Regions from separate parts of the Homo sapiens genome. Here region 2 is linked to region 1. The links are contacts of gene promoters, found by promoter capture Hi-C in human tissues and cell types (Jung and others, 2019). All regions are on one chromosome and are shown on one strand. The core of a region is centred on a gene start or on the middle of the fragment in contact, and the rest is flanking DNA. Distances in the headings are between cores, read along the strand shown.

The links. Contacts are between HindIII fragments. The study calls those that stand out against the background at their distance.
Region 2: a fragment that was not itself captured here is called in contact with the fragment with the promoter of FAHD2A in region 1 in 1 of the 25 tissues and cell types used here (adrenal gland).

Annotation. Positions count from the first base shown.
Region 1 is chr2:95,399,306-95,405,547 of GRCh38, reverse strand. FAHD2A (fumarylacetoacetate hydrolase domain containing 2A) reads right to left here and starts at 2,840. Exons shown (of 8, transcript NM_016044.3): 1 at 2,676-2,840. RefSeq lists enhancers at 1,932-2,051, 2,192-3,130, 3,122-3,201, 3,131-4,070. The HindIII fragment of the contact is 15,771 bases long and covers 1,401-6,242 here.
Region 2 is chr2:95,362,056-95,368,297 of GRCh38, reverse strand. All of the region lies in intron 2 of KCNIP3 (potassium voltage-gated channel interacting protein 3), which reads right to left. Among named protein-coding and RNA genes, the nearest start is that of FAHD2A, 38 kb to the left of the region's middle. The HindIII fragment of the contact is 3,502 bases long and covers 942-4,443 here.

The DNA.
Region 1 (6,242 bases), core at 1,591-4,090:
GAGAAAAATGCAGGATCCAGGAGACAGAGGATCCCAGAGCCATCATCAGGTTCCCTGAAATTCCTAGGGCTATAGCCCGAGGCCCTTTGCCCCATCAACCGTTCCCTGCATACCACACGGGAAGTGGTCCAGGCTTGTATTTTACCTGCTATACTTCATAAGGTGAAACTTTTCTAGAGGAGCAACTACTACATGCTACGCAGTAAGTCCCAGGGATTCCAGCGTTCCTTCAACCAGTGCTTTCTGAAAGTTCCCACTGTGCTTGGCTCTGCTGTAGGTATTGGGGAAACAATGTAGGTGAAACTCAGCCCTGCCATTCTCCCTGCACAGGTCACAGATGTTAACAACTGACGTAAGATTCAGCTATCAGGACTAATGCTGTGAAGATGGTCAGGGGCTCTACCCTTCTCTAGTTTCTGGAGGAAGTGATGTGAGCTGAGCTGGGCTAAATGAGCAGGACCAGGAATTAGCTGGGTGGCAGCCCAGCATGGGCAAGTGACGCTGGTGAAACTGGCTTCACAGTGGCCATAAACAATTTTTTAAATGCTATTTTGGTCCTGTTAACCTCCTACTTAAAATGGTTTCCACTGCTCACATGATCAAGCTAGAACCTCTACCAGGCTGTCCCAGTCTTCTAGGAGCAGCGCCCCCACCTGCCTCTCCAGATAATAATTATTTCGTTTCTCCTGATAGAGAACAAGTTGCCTGAGGGAAGAGGCTGCAGACAAACAACAGGGTCTGGGCCTGACAGCCATCACTTGTCATCTCCCTGGGTCCAGGGCACATGTCTGTCTCTTTCACTGCCCAGCACTGTGCCTGGTGCACAGAAGGCTCTCAGTGACTTTCTGCTGAATGAACAAATAAGTGACAGAAGCAGGGGCTTGACATTTCACTACTTGGGAAAGCTTAGTGCTTGTTAACTTCAGGAGACATGGCTGTGCCTTCCCACAAGGGCCAGTTGTAGTGGCTCATGCGTGATATCCCTAACAATTTGGGAGGCCGAGGTGGGTGGATCACTTGAGGTCAGGAGTTCAAGACCAGCCTGGCCAACGTGGTGAAACCCCGTTTCCACTAAAAATACAAAAAACTCGCCGAGTGTGGTGGCAGCCACCTGTAATCCCAGCTACTAGGGAGGCTGAGACACGAGAATCGCTTGAACCCAGGGGAAGGAGGTTGCAGTGAGCTGAGATCGCGCCACTGCACTCCAGCCTGGGTGACAGACGAAGACTCCATCTCAATTAAAAAAAAAAAAATCCTCAGGGCTCAGATCCTGTTTTGAGTCCAAGGCTCCACTTAAAGACAAACACTATTCTCTTGTTTTGTTCTTAATCCACGTCTGGCCTCTATTCCTTACCACATGGTGCCTTCCCTGAATGGTTCCTTGCTCTTACAACAAAGGCGGTATTGTACAGCCTTCTATGCCCAAAAATGTGGAGGCAGCTGATCCCCAGACTCTTGGTCCTCACCTGGAGATTCAATCTGCCTTGTTCAGTTGAAGATTCATTAGACTTAGGTCACCACTGTTGTGGCCCACCAGTTTGACTAGAAAACCGAGGGCTTTGACTTCTCTGCCCTGCTGTCTTACACAAGCACCAACTGTGCCACTGTCAAAAGGCTGTTCGAGCCAATGTGCACACACTCAGACACTCCACATGCTAACATAACAGTAACTGCTGCCGCTGAATGCCAACTATTAAGTGCTCTACCTACAATGTCTGATTTAATTCTCGACAATTGTGGAAGGTAGGTACTGTTAGCCTCATTTTACAGATGAAACAATTAAGGCTTAAAGAGGTTAAGAGATTTGCCCAAGGTTACACAGTCCTAGAGCTAGGAGAGGAAGGAGCTGGGATGTGAATCCAAGTCCAGGTGACATGAAGTCCTTGGTTCAGAAGCTTGTAATGCAAGCAAAAAAATCCAGCTTCAGCCCCCATCCCCCTACCAAGGCCATTTTAACCCAGAATGTTGTGGTGAGAAGTGGGGACCTTCCATAGGAAATCCTCCAAAGTCTCTAAAGATTGTAGTGAGAAGTAGGGACCTCCCACAGGAGATCCTCCAGAGGCCGTAACTGCTAACAGACATGCGTGGGGAAACTACAGGCGCCCTCTGGCTGTTGCCTCAGGGACGAGGCTGGTTACCAGCTCTCCAAGAGAACCCCAGGCCCCACTGACTGTTCCCTTCCCACATGACACACACATGCAGGTTCATTCCAACCTTACAGCAATCTCCTCAGGTAGAGCGCCCTCACTTTAAAGAAGAGGACACTGAGACTCAAAGGGATGATGTCAGGTGCCCAAGGTACTAGTCAGAAAGTGGCCCTGGGGCTTCTGCAACAACCACTATATCACACAGCCCGAGCTCAATCCAACTCTGCAAGAGTCCATAAGCAAAGGGGCGGCGACATGAGGTGGAAACAGTAGCCTCCATCAAACAAAGCCTGAGACATGGGTGTGCACGTCGGATTCCATCCCACCGTCCACTCGCCTGGAACCCGTGCCGGTCCCCCAGTTTCCCCATATGCCCAGCTCCAGCCCCGACAGTTAGTGAGTGCTCACACAGGTCCGCCCCGTCTGTGTGGTCAGAAGCGGCTGGGGATCCGGTACTAGTTCTGCGCTCCGCGGGAGACCGGCGCCACGGACACCCTTCTGGCCTAGACCCAGCCAGGCTCGTCCTACCTGGCCGCGGCGGCCGATCTTCCTGCGCTGTAGGGTTAGAGCTCGCGGGGCCGAAGGTCAAGGGCGGCGGGCGCCTGAGCACTGCCACCAGTGACCGCAGCCAGCCGGGGAAATGCAGCAGCTGCTAACCCAGGGCCACTCGGCCGGATCACCCGAGAGAAAAGCGGGCGCGATCCTGTGACGTCACAGGCAATGGCCACTAGCAGGGCGCCAATCCCGGAGGGGCGGGCCCATCGTGGGGCGGGCGGCTCCGGCGGGTCTTCAGGCTACGGGTTCAGCCAGGCGCCAGCCGCGTTCTCTGGAGACGCTCTCTCTCGGAGGGACCCTGCACTTGCCTGAACTCGAGAGTGGGCGCTGCCCGAAGGTTTGTCCCTGGGCGCTTCGCTGGCCTCATCCGGTCTCGGCCTTGTTCTGGGCCTGGCGCCTTTCCCATTGTTGGGGAAAGTGGTCTAGGAGACCAAGGCAGCGTGCTGGGTGGCAGAGAATGATTTGTGGCTTCTGATTCTGACATATGTCGTTGAGGAGGGGAGGGATGACTGCCCCCGTTTTACTTATGGAGAACCTGGGGCCAGAGCTGTTTTCCCAGGGTGACACAGGCGGTGAGTAGTGGAGCTGGCATTCCTGACCCCAAAGCGCAGCGTTTCCCAGCCACTCTCCGCAGCCAGGCCTTCACCTGCACTGCTGGGCGCAGGTGGGGAAGTGGGGAAACGGGACTCCATCCCCTGCAGAGGGCAGGCGTGTAGGGAGTGGCAGCTGAACTCCACAGACAGCTACTGCTCAGCTCTTCAGCTGCCGACTTTGAACAGTGTGAGGGGCTCTGTACAAGTGGCCCCCACATTACTCAAGGACCAGATCATCAAGAGCTTTACTTGTCCCACGAAGGAGTCTGGACCTTGTTTACGTGCACAGGAGACCGCTGGAAGGTTCTCAGTGGCGTGCCATGTCCCGACTTCTATTTGAGAAGTTTTTCTCTGGCCACCCGTCTGAGGAAAGGTGTCTGGGTGGGTGGTGCGGTTGAGAACAATGGTGGTGCGGTGCGTGGTGGAGAAGGTGAGTGTCCAGAGATGTTCAGGAGGAAGAACTGACAGCTCTGAATGACAGGAGGTGGAAGTGAGAAGGAAGGAGGTACAAGGCCAACTCCTGGGTCTCTAGCTCGGTAGGTGCAGGGCCGTTCATGGAGACAGGGCTCCTGGAGGAGCAGCGGGTCTGGGGAGAGGATGGTGAGCTCCGATTTGCATGGGACATCCAAAGGGCATTGAACGGTGGGCAGTTGGAGACATGGGTCTGGAGCTTGGGACTTCAGCCTAGCTTGCAGAAGGTCACCACAGATATTGAAATGGAACCTATGGGGGTGGCTGTGATCAGGGGGATTCGCTGAGGAGAACCTGGCACAAGGGTTTCACTAAGCCATAGCTCCCAAAGACTTTCTGAAAAGCTAAGTTACAGCCTGGAAGAAAATATCTGTAAAGGCTATATTTGATAAAAAGACTTGTATCCAGAATATAGAAAGAATGCTTAAAAGTCAGTAGATAAAATCAAACAATTCAATTTTTTAGATGGACAAAATATTTGAACTGACATTTCATCAAATAAGATATACAGACAGAAAATTGGGACATGAAGGCTGGGCGCAGTGGCTCACGCCTGCAATCCCAGCATTTTGGGAGGCCGAGGCAGGCGGATCACAAGGTCAGGAGATCGAGACCATCCTGGCTAACACAGTTAAACCCCATCTCTACTAAAAATACAAAAAATTAGCCGAGCGTGGTGGTGGGCGCCTGTAGTCCTAGCTACTGGGGAGGCTGAGGCAGAAGAGTGGCGGGAACCCGGGAGGTGGAGCTTGCAGTGAGCCGAGATCGTGCCACTGCACTCCAGCCTGGGCGACAAAGCAAGACTCTGTCTCAAAAAAAAAAAGAAAGAAAAAATTAGGACATGAAAAGATGCTCAACATCATTAATCATTAAGGATATGCAAATTGCAAGCGCAATGTGACACCATCTCACACCTACTAGAATGGACAAAGAAGACTGATTATACCAAGTACTGGCAAGAATGTGGAGGACCTGGGATTCTTGTACACTGCTGATGGGATTATAAAATAGTACCACCACGATCGAAAACCATTTGTCAGTGTATGAAGAGAATTAAACATACACCTACCATATGATGTAGCCATTTCAATCCTGACTATTGACAGTATTGAATTTTACCTTAGCCCTTTGCTTCTAGAAATAGTGAAGGTTAAGGAATCCCACCACTCTTTTGTTCCAGAAAACCCCCTACTGGAAAGAACCAGTGACTTTCTATATAACCTGGATAAGACTCCCAGATGCTCCCTTGTTTATCTGTGACCAGGCCAGACACAGACCCTCTAAATTCCCATTCTTGGCCTCATAAATGATTAGCTGGGCTGCTTGTCCCACAGATCAATAAGAACAAAAGCCTGTAACCAAACCTTGGTTCAGATTCTCTCCTTTTCCAAGCCCTTGAGCTTTGGCCCACCCACAGCTTGTGCCAACCCGCAGCCCTCCTGAGGTTCCCTCCTGAGAACAGGCTGTCCGCAGGGTAAGACCTCCTCGATCGTGACACTCTTGCTCAGCCCACTTTCCCATAACAGTTCTTTCTAGCCACGTTTACGCCTCCCTATACAAGATCAGCCCTTTGCCTAACCTCTGAGACACTTGCAGATCATATGGGAAGCCTGCGAGTGGCCGCACTGCAACGTTTCCCTATTGCAATGGTCACCCCCACAACAATCCTTTGGAATAAATTCGCTCCTTATATAATCCAGATTTGTTTTTTTGTTTTATAGTAATTACCTGAGAAATTTAAAAAAAATGCTTATGCAATGGCTTATACAGAAATGTTCACAGCAGCCTTTTTACAAAATCCCCAAACTGGAAACAACTCAATTTTTCATTAACAGGTGAATGTGTAAACACTCTGTTATAGCCACACTAGGGAATACTACCCAGCAATGAAAAGGGACAAATTGTTGATGCAACATGGATATATATCAAGATAATTATTCAGAGTGAAAAAGAGATTAAAAATGAGTACATATGGAATTATTTCATTTGTATAGAGTATCCTTGGGGGGTACTTTCCAAGACCCCTAGAGGACGCCTGAAACTGCAGATAGTACCAAACCCTACATCTGCTACGTCTTTTCCTATATATACATGCCAGTGATCAAATTTAATCCAGATGAAGTTAACCTGGTGCTACACGGTTGCTGTTCAATCAGAATATGTTTCTGTTCACGTCTTCCACCCACAAATCTAATGCCTTTTCCATCCTAACTAAGTGCTTCTCACACACTGTAGCCATAACTTTTGCAGTTTGAGGTGCGACAGCAAAACTGGCACAAATTTCTTTTTCCTTCTTCACAATTTCATGGATAGAAGATTCGTTCTTTCTGTAGCTCTTAGCAACCTCATTATGTGATTTTTGTTTTATTTCCTTAAGTCAGGAGCGTTCCCATAAAGGAAGGCTTCTCTTTGGCATATCGGAAATGCCGACACCACTCCCCTTTTGCTCTGGGGCCATTATGAAGTCAGATGATGG
Region 2 (6,242 bases), core at 1,443-3,942, 37 kb after region 1:
ATGAGAAGGCATAGAAAACTACCTGGCTGGGAACTGGAGAAGATCTTCAGCTTTTCTGTTTACTCAAGTCTCAGGGTTATTCTGCTATTACAGTACAGCTGATCACTAATTAGAAGGTTATCCTTAGCATGGAAGTAGAAAATGGTGACTTAAAAACTTGTTACTCCAAGCAGCTAGCCTAGTTTGTCCTGCAACTTTATCATGTTTTATAATTTGCATTAAAATGTTAAGTAACAGGCCGGGCGCGGTGGCTCATGCCTGTAATCCCAGCACTTTGGGAGGCCAAGGCGGGTGGATCACCTGAGGTCAGGAGTTCGAGACCAGCCTGGCCAACATGGCGAAACCCTGTCTCTACTAAAAATACAAAAATTAGCCAGGCGTGATGGCAGGCGCCTGTAATCCCAGCTACTCGGGAGGCTAAGACAGGAGAATCGCTTGAACCTGGGAGGCAGAGGTTGCAGTGAGCTGAGATCGTGCCATTGCACTCCAGCCTGGGAAACAAGAGCGAGACTCCATCTCAAAAAAAAAAAAAAAAAAAATGTTAAGTCACTTTTTTATATAAAGAAGTGAATGGATTTTGTAATTTCCTTTGGAATGCAAATTAGAATAAAAATCTTACACACAAATAAAAAGACAGAACTTAAAAAACAATACCATTTACAATTGCTCATCTCACAAATGAAATACTTAGGTATATATCTTGCAAAACATGTATATAATCCGTATGCCAAAAACTACAAAATGCTGATGAAAGAAATCACGGAGGATTCAAATGATGGAAGAAACATAACTATGTTCATGGATTGAAAGACTCAGTGCTATAAAGATGCCAGTTATCTCCAAAATGATTCACAGATTTCATACAATTCCTATCAAAATCCCAGCAAGAGTTTTTTTGTACATACAGACAACATGCTCTAAAATTTATCTAGAAAGACAGAGGAACTAGAATAGCTAAAATAATTTTGTGAAAGAAGAATAAAGATATTGGTTTTTTTATTTTTATTTTATTTTATTATTTTTTTAAGACAGAGTTTGGCTCCGTCGCCCAGGCTGGAGTGCAGTGGCATGATCTCAGCTCACTGCAACCTCTGCCTCCCGAGTTCAAGTGATTCTCCTGCCTCAGTCTCCCGAGTAACTGGGACTACAGGCACGCACCACCACACCTAGCTAGTTTTTGTATTTTTAGTAGAGACAGGATTTCACCATGTTGGCGAGGCTGGTCTCGAACTCCTGACCTCAGGAGTTCCTGAGTGATCCGGCCACCTCAGCCTCCAAAAGTGCTGGGATTACAAAGATATTGTTAAATAAAAAGGTAAGCACAGACTGGGAGAAAATATTACCTTTGCAAACTGCATATCTGACAAAGGATATACAGAATATATAAAGAAGTCTCAAAACTCTGCAGTAAGAAATCAAAGAACTCAAATTAGTAAATGTCAAAAAACCTAATCAAACACTTCACTATAGAGGATAAAACGCTGATAAAATAAGCACAAGAAAGAGGATTAGCATCATTTTCCATTAAGGAAATGCAAATTGAAACCTCAGTGAAATACTGCTATATACCTATGAGAATTGCTTACATAACAAATATTGACAATGTCGGGCGCTTGCAGTGGGGGGATGCAGAGCGACGGGAACCACTATATGTTGCTGGCAGGAGAGAGAAGTGGTACTGCCATGCTGGAAATCACGTTGCCACTTTCTTATAAAGAGGCTCTTCCCATAAGACCCAGCAATCCCATTTCTGGTTATTTACCCAAATGAAATGAAAGCTACTATATTCAACTTTAGGCAAATGTTTAGAGCAATTTTATTCAAAATTGCCCCAAACTGTATATACAAATGCCCTCCAACTGGTGAGTGGATGAGCTGTGGTACATCACACAAGGAAAGATACTCAGCAACAATACGGAACAAACTCCTGACACACGCAAAACATGAATGAATCGCACATGCAATGACGTGAAAGAGTCCAGACTCCAGAGGCAGATCATGTCTGACAACATCCATGGGACAGTCTGGAAAAGATAAAAGGACAGAAAATTACAGGGAAAGAGAACAGATCAGTGGCTGCCTGGGGGCTGACTACCAAAGAGGCAGCATAAGGCAATTTTTTGTGGTGACGACATTGTTCTATATCGCCAGGTGCCCGGTGTGGTGGTGCACACCTGTAGTCCTACCTCTCAGGAGGCTGAGGTGGGAGGACTGCTTGAGCCCTGGAGTTCAAGGCCGCCATGAGCTAGGATCACACTACTGCACTCCAGTCTGGGCGACAGAGACCCCATCTCCAAAAACTAAGTAAGTAAATAAAAATTAAAATTAAATTAAATTAAAATAAATTGTTCCACATCTTGATTGTGGTAATGGTTACATGACTATGCATGTATCGAGATTCATAGAACTAGACAGCCAAAAAGGTAAATTTTACATTAATTTAAATTAGAAAAAATGAGAATACTTAGCTATGGGGAGGAGGGAAATAGGGGTGTAAAAGAGGAAAAACAAATGAGAGGCTGTAAATGGGTCAAGGCTGATGATATCCCATGAACTACAGAGTAGGATGAACTTAATCCTCTTTCCCGAGGGCCAAGAAACAAAATAAGACAGAAACTCCAAACCTGCTGCTATTTCTTCCATTAAAAACAACAAAACTCCTTGACCATATTTTCCCCTAAGCCTTTTTCTCACCTCCTGTAACTCCCTGCCTTCACTTCCTCTCCTCCTGTTCTCCCTCAAACTTACTCCACTCCAAGAAAACTGCTCTTACAAGGATCGTGGATGATCTCCATGTGGTCAATATTGTAATTTTGATTTAAAAAATGACATAAGGGGCCAAGTGCGGTGGCTCATGCCTGTAATCCCAGCACTTTGGGAGGCCGAGGCGGGTGGATGACCTGAGGCCAGGAGTTCAAGACCAGCCTGGCCAACATGGCGAAACCCCGTCTCTACTAAAAATACAAAAATTATCTGGGCACAGTGGTGCACGCCTGTAATCCCAGCTACTTGGGAAGCTGAGGCAGGAGAATTGCTTGAACCCTGAAGGCGGAGGCTGCAGTGAGCTGAGATCATGTCACCGTAATCCAGCCTGGGCAACAGAGAGAGACTCTGTCTCAAAAAAAAAAAAAAAAAAAAAGACATAAGGACAAGGTGTTAATCCATTCTTGCATTGCTAGAAAGGAATACCTGAGACTAGGTAAATTTTTTATTTTTTTGAGACAGGGTCTCACTCTGTTGTCCAGGCTGGAGTGCAGTGGTGCAATCACAGCTCACTGCAGCCTTCCAGGCTCAGGTGATCCTCCCACCTCAGTCTCCCAAGTAGCTGAGACTACAGGCACACACCACTATAACCAGCTAATTTTTTTTATTTATAATAGAGACAGGGTTTTGTCATGTTGCCCAGGCTGGTCTCAAACTCCTGGGCTCAAGTGATCCTCAAGACTGCATTATTTATAAAGAAAAGACGTTTATTTCACTTGTGGTTCTGCAGGATGTACACAAAGCACAGTGCTGGCATCTGCCTCTGGTGAGGGCCTCAGGAAGCTTCCAATCGTGATGGAGGGTGAAGAGGGAGCAAGCAGGTCACGTGGCAAGAATGGAAGCAAGAGACACAAGGGAGGAGGTGCCAGGCTCTTTAATGTATTATATAAATTGTATAAAAGTCAGATTTCACATGAACTCATGGAGAGAACTCACTCATTACCATGAGCATGGTGCTGGGCCATTCAGGAGGGATCCGCGCCCGTGATTCAATACTTCCCACTAGTCCCCACCTCCAACATTGGGGATTCATTTCAACATGAGATGTGGGGGGGGACAAACATCCAAACCATATCAGAAAACGCAAGAGTGAGAGTGAACAACGTATGCCTAATGCCACTTTTGAACACAGATGCAAAACCCTAAACCAAATGTTAGCTAAATGAAGCCAATGGCATTTTTTTAAGTACATCATGATCAAGAAGATTTTATCTGGAAGAACATAAAGAGGAAAAATCACATGAAAATCTTAATGCAGAAAGGGCATTTGATAAGCTTTCATGTCTATTTATAATTAAAATAAACGATGACCAAAAAAAACTCTCAGCAAACCAGGAGTCAAAGGGAAGTTCTTTAACGTGATTTGCTTATATTTGCAAATCACATATTTACAAAAAAAATTACAGAAAATATTGGATTTAATGGCAAAAGCTTAGATACATTCCCTTTAATATTTGGGACAAGTTTGGCCACAGTCCCCACTAATCAATGTCCTGCCAATGCTCTTAGGAAATTTAGAAAAGAAATAAATAGTGTACGAATTGAGAAGTAAAGGATAAAATTAACATTATTTAGATGATAGGGTCCCCAGAGGGACTAAAAGAATCAACAGACAGGAGAGTTCAGTAAGGTTGCCAGATATAAGATTAATCGATACAAAAATCAATAGCAGTTCTCTACACCAGTAATAACCATCTAGAAAATATAATTAAAAATACCAAGATAAACACTCACAATAGCAATAAAACTAAAGAGTATCTCTAAGTAGTAATAAAAACTCAAAGGACCTCTACATGGAAAGATATTCTGAATACATGAGACATTCCATCTTATGGCCACATATTAATGTCATTTCTCCCCAAAGTAATCTGTAAGTAAATTCAGTGCAATTCCAATAAAAAATTCAGTTGGATTTTTTTTTTGGAAAGCTTGATAAACACACACTGAAATGTATATGGAGAAACAAACAATTCATAAAAACCTAAAAAGAAAAATAACAAGGGAGGAGTTTCTCTCAGACACTAGTACATGTTGTATAGTCATTGTAATAAAAATTGTATGGTTGGTACAAGAACAGACAAACGTACCAACAAACAGACCAGAGAGCTCAAAAAAGAGAGTGACGTGTAGGAGGGAATTTCATGAAAGCTATGGGAAAAAAGGTCAGAGTGTTTAGTAGATGGTGTTAGGAAAACTGGATCACCACATAAAGAAAACAATCTAGACTCCTTCCATATCCCACATGCAAATGTAGGTTCCAGGTGCATTAGAGACCCCAATGTGAATGGTAAATGATAGAGCTATAATAAAATGTAAAAGAGCCTCCTGTTAACCTAAGATTCTGGACAGATTTCTTAAAACTCCAAAAGCTCAAACCACAAGGAAAAAAAAGGATGAATCTGATTACATCAAAATTAAAGATTTCTGTTCAACAAAGGTCAGAGTGAGACACTCAACAGAATAGAAGAAGATAGCGTAGAGTGTTCACAAATGATGAAAGAAGAATCTCTAGAGCAGGTATCAGCAGAAAGGGAAACCAGAAAGATGGATACAAACCCAAAAGATGGCTCAATTTCAGTAATAAACAGGAACACGTAAATTAGCATGAGAATGCAGTACCTCCTAGATTGCTAAGAGATAATAATAATGAAAAAATAAGTTTTTTTGGCAAATATGTAGATCAATGGTAATTCTGAAACACTCTAGTGCAGGGGTCCTCAACTCCCTGGGCCGAGGACCAGTACTAGTCGGTGGTCTGTTAGGAACTGGGCTGCACAGCAGGAGGTGGGCGGCAGGTGAGCAAGTGAAGCTTCATCTGTATCTACAGCTGGTCCCCACTGCTCGCATTCCTGCCTGAGCTTCACCTCCTGTCAGATGAGCAGCGGCATTAAATTCTCATAGGAGCGCAAACCCTACCGTGAACTGTGCATGCGAGGGGTGCATATGCAGATTTCTGTTTACTAGTGCATAGGATTGAACTGTGTCCCCTCAACTTCATCGTTGAAGTCTTAACCCCCAGTGTGACTGTATTTGGAGATAGGGTCCTTAGGAGGTAACCAAGGTTACGTGGGGTCACAAGGTTGGGCCCTTATCCCATAAGATTGGTAGCCTTATATGAAGAGTAAGAGAGGCCGGGTGTGGTGGCTCATGCCTGTAATCCCAGCACTTTGGGAGGCCGAGGTGGGCGGATCACCTGAGGTCGGGAGTTCGAGACCGGCCTGACCAACATGGAGAAACCCTGTCTCTACTAAAAATACAAAATTAGCCGGGCATAGTGGTGCATGCCTGTAATCCCAGCTACTCGGGAGGCTGAGGCAGGAGAATCGCTTGAACCCAGGAGGCGGAGCTTGCAGTGAGCTGAGATCACACCACTGCGCTCCAGCCTGGGTGACAGAGCAAGACTCCATCTCAAAAAAAAAAAGAAAAAAAAAAGGGTAGGAGAGACAGCTATGTCTGCCTCCACGTGCATGCAGCAAAAG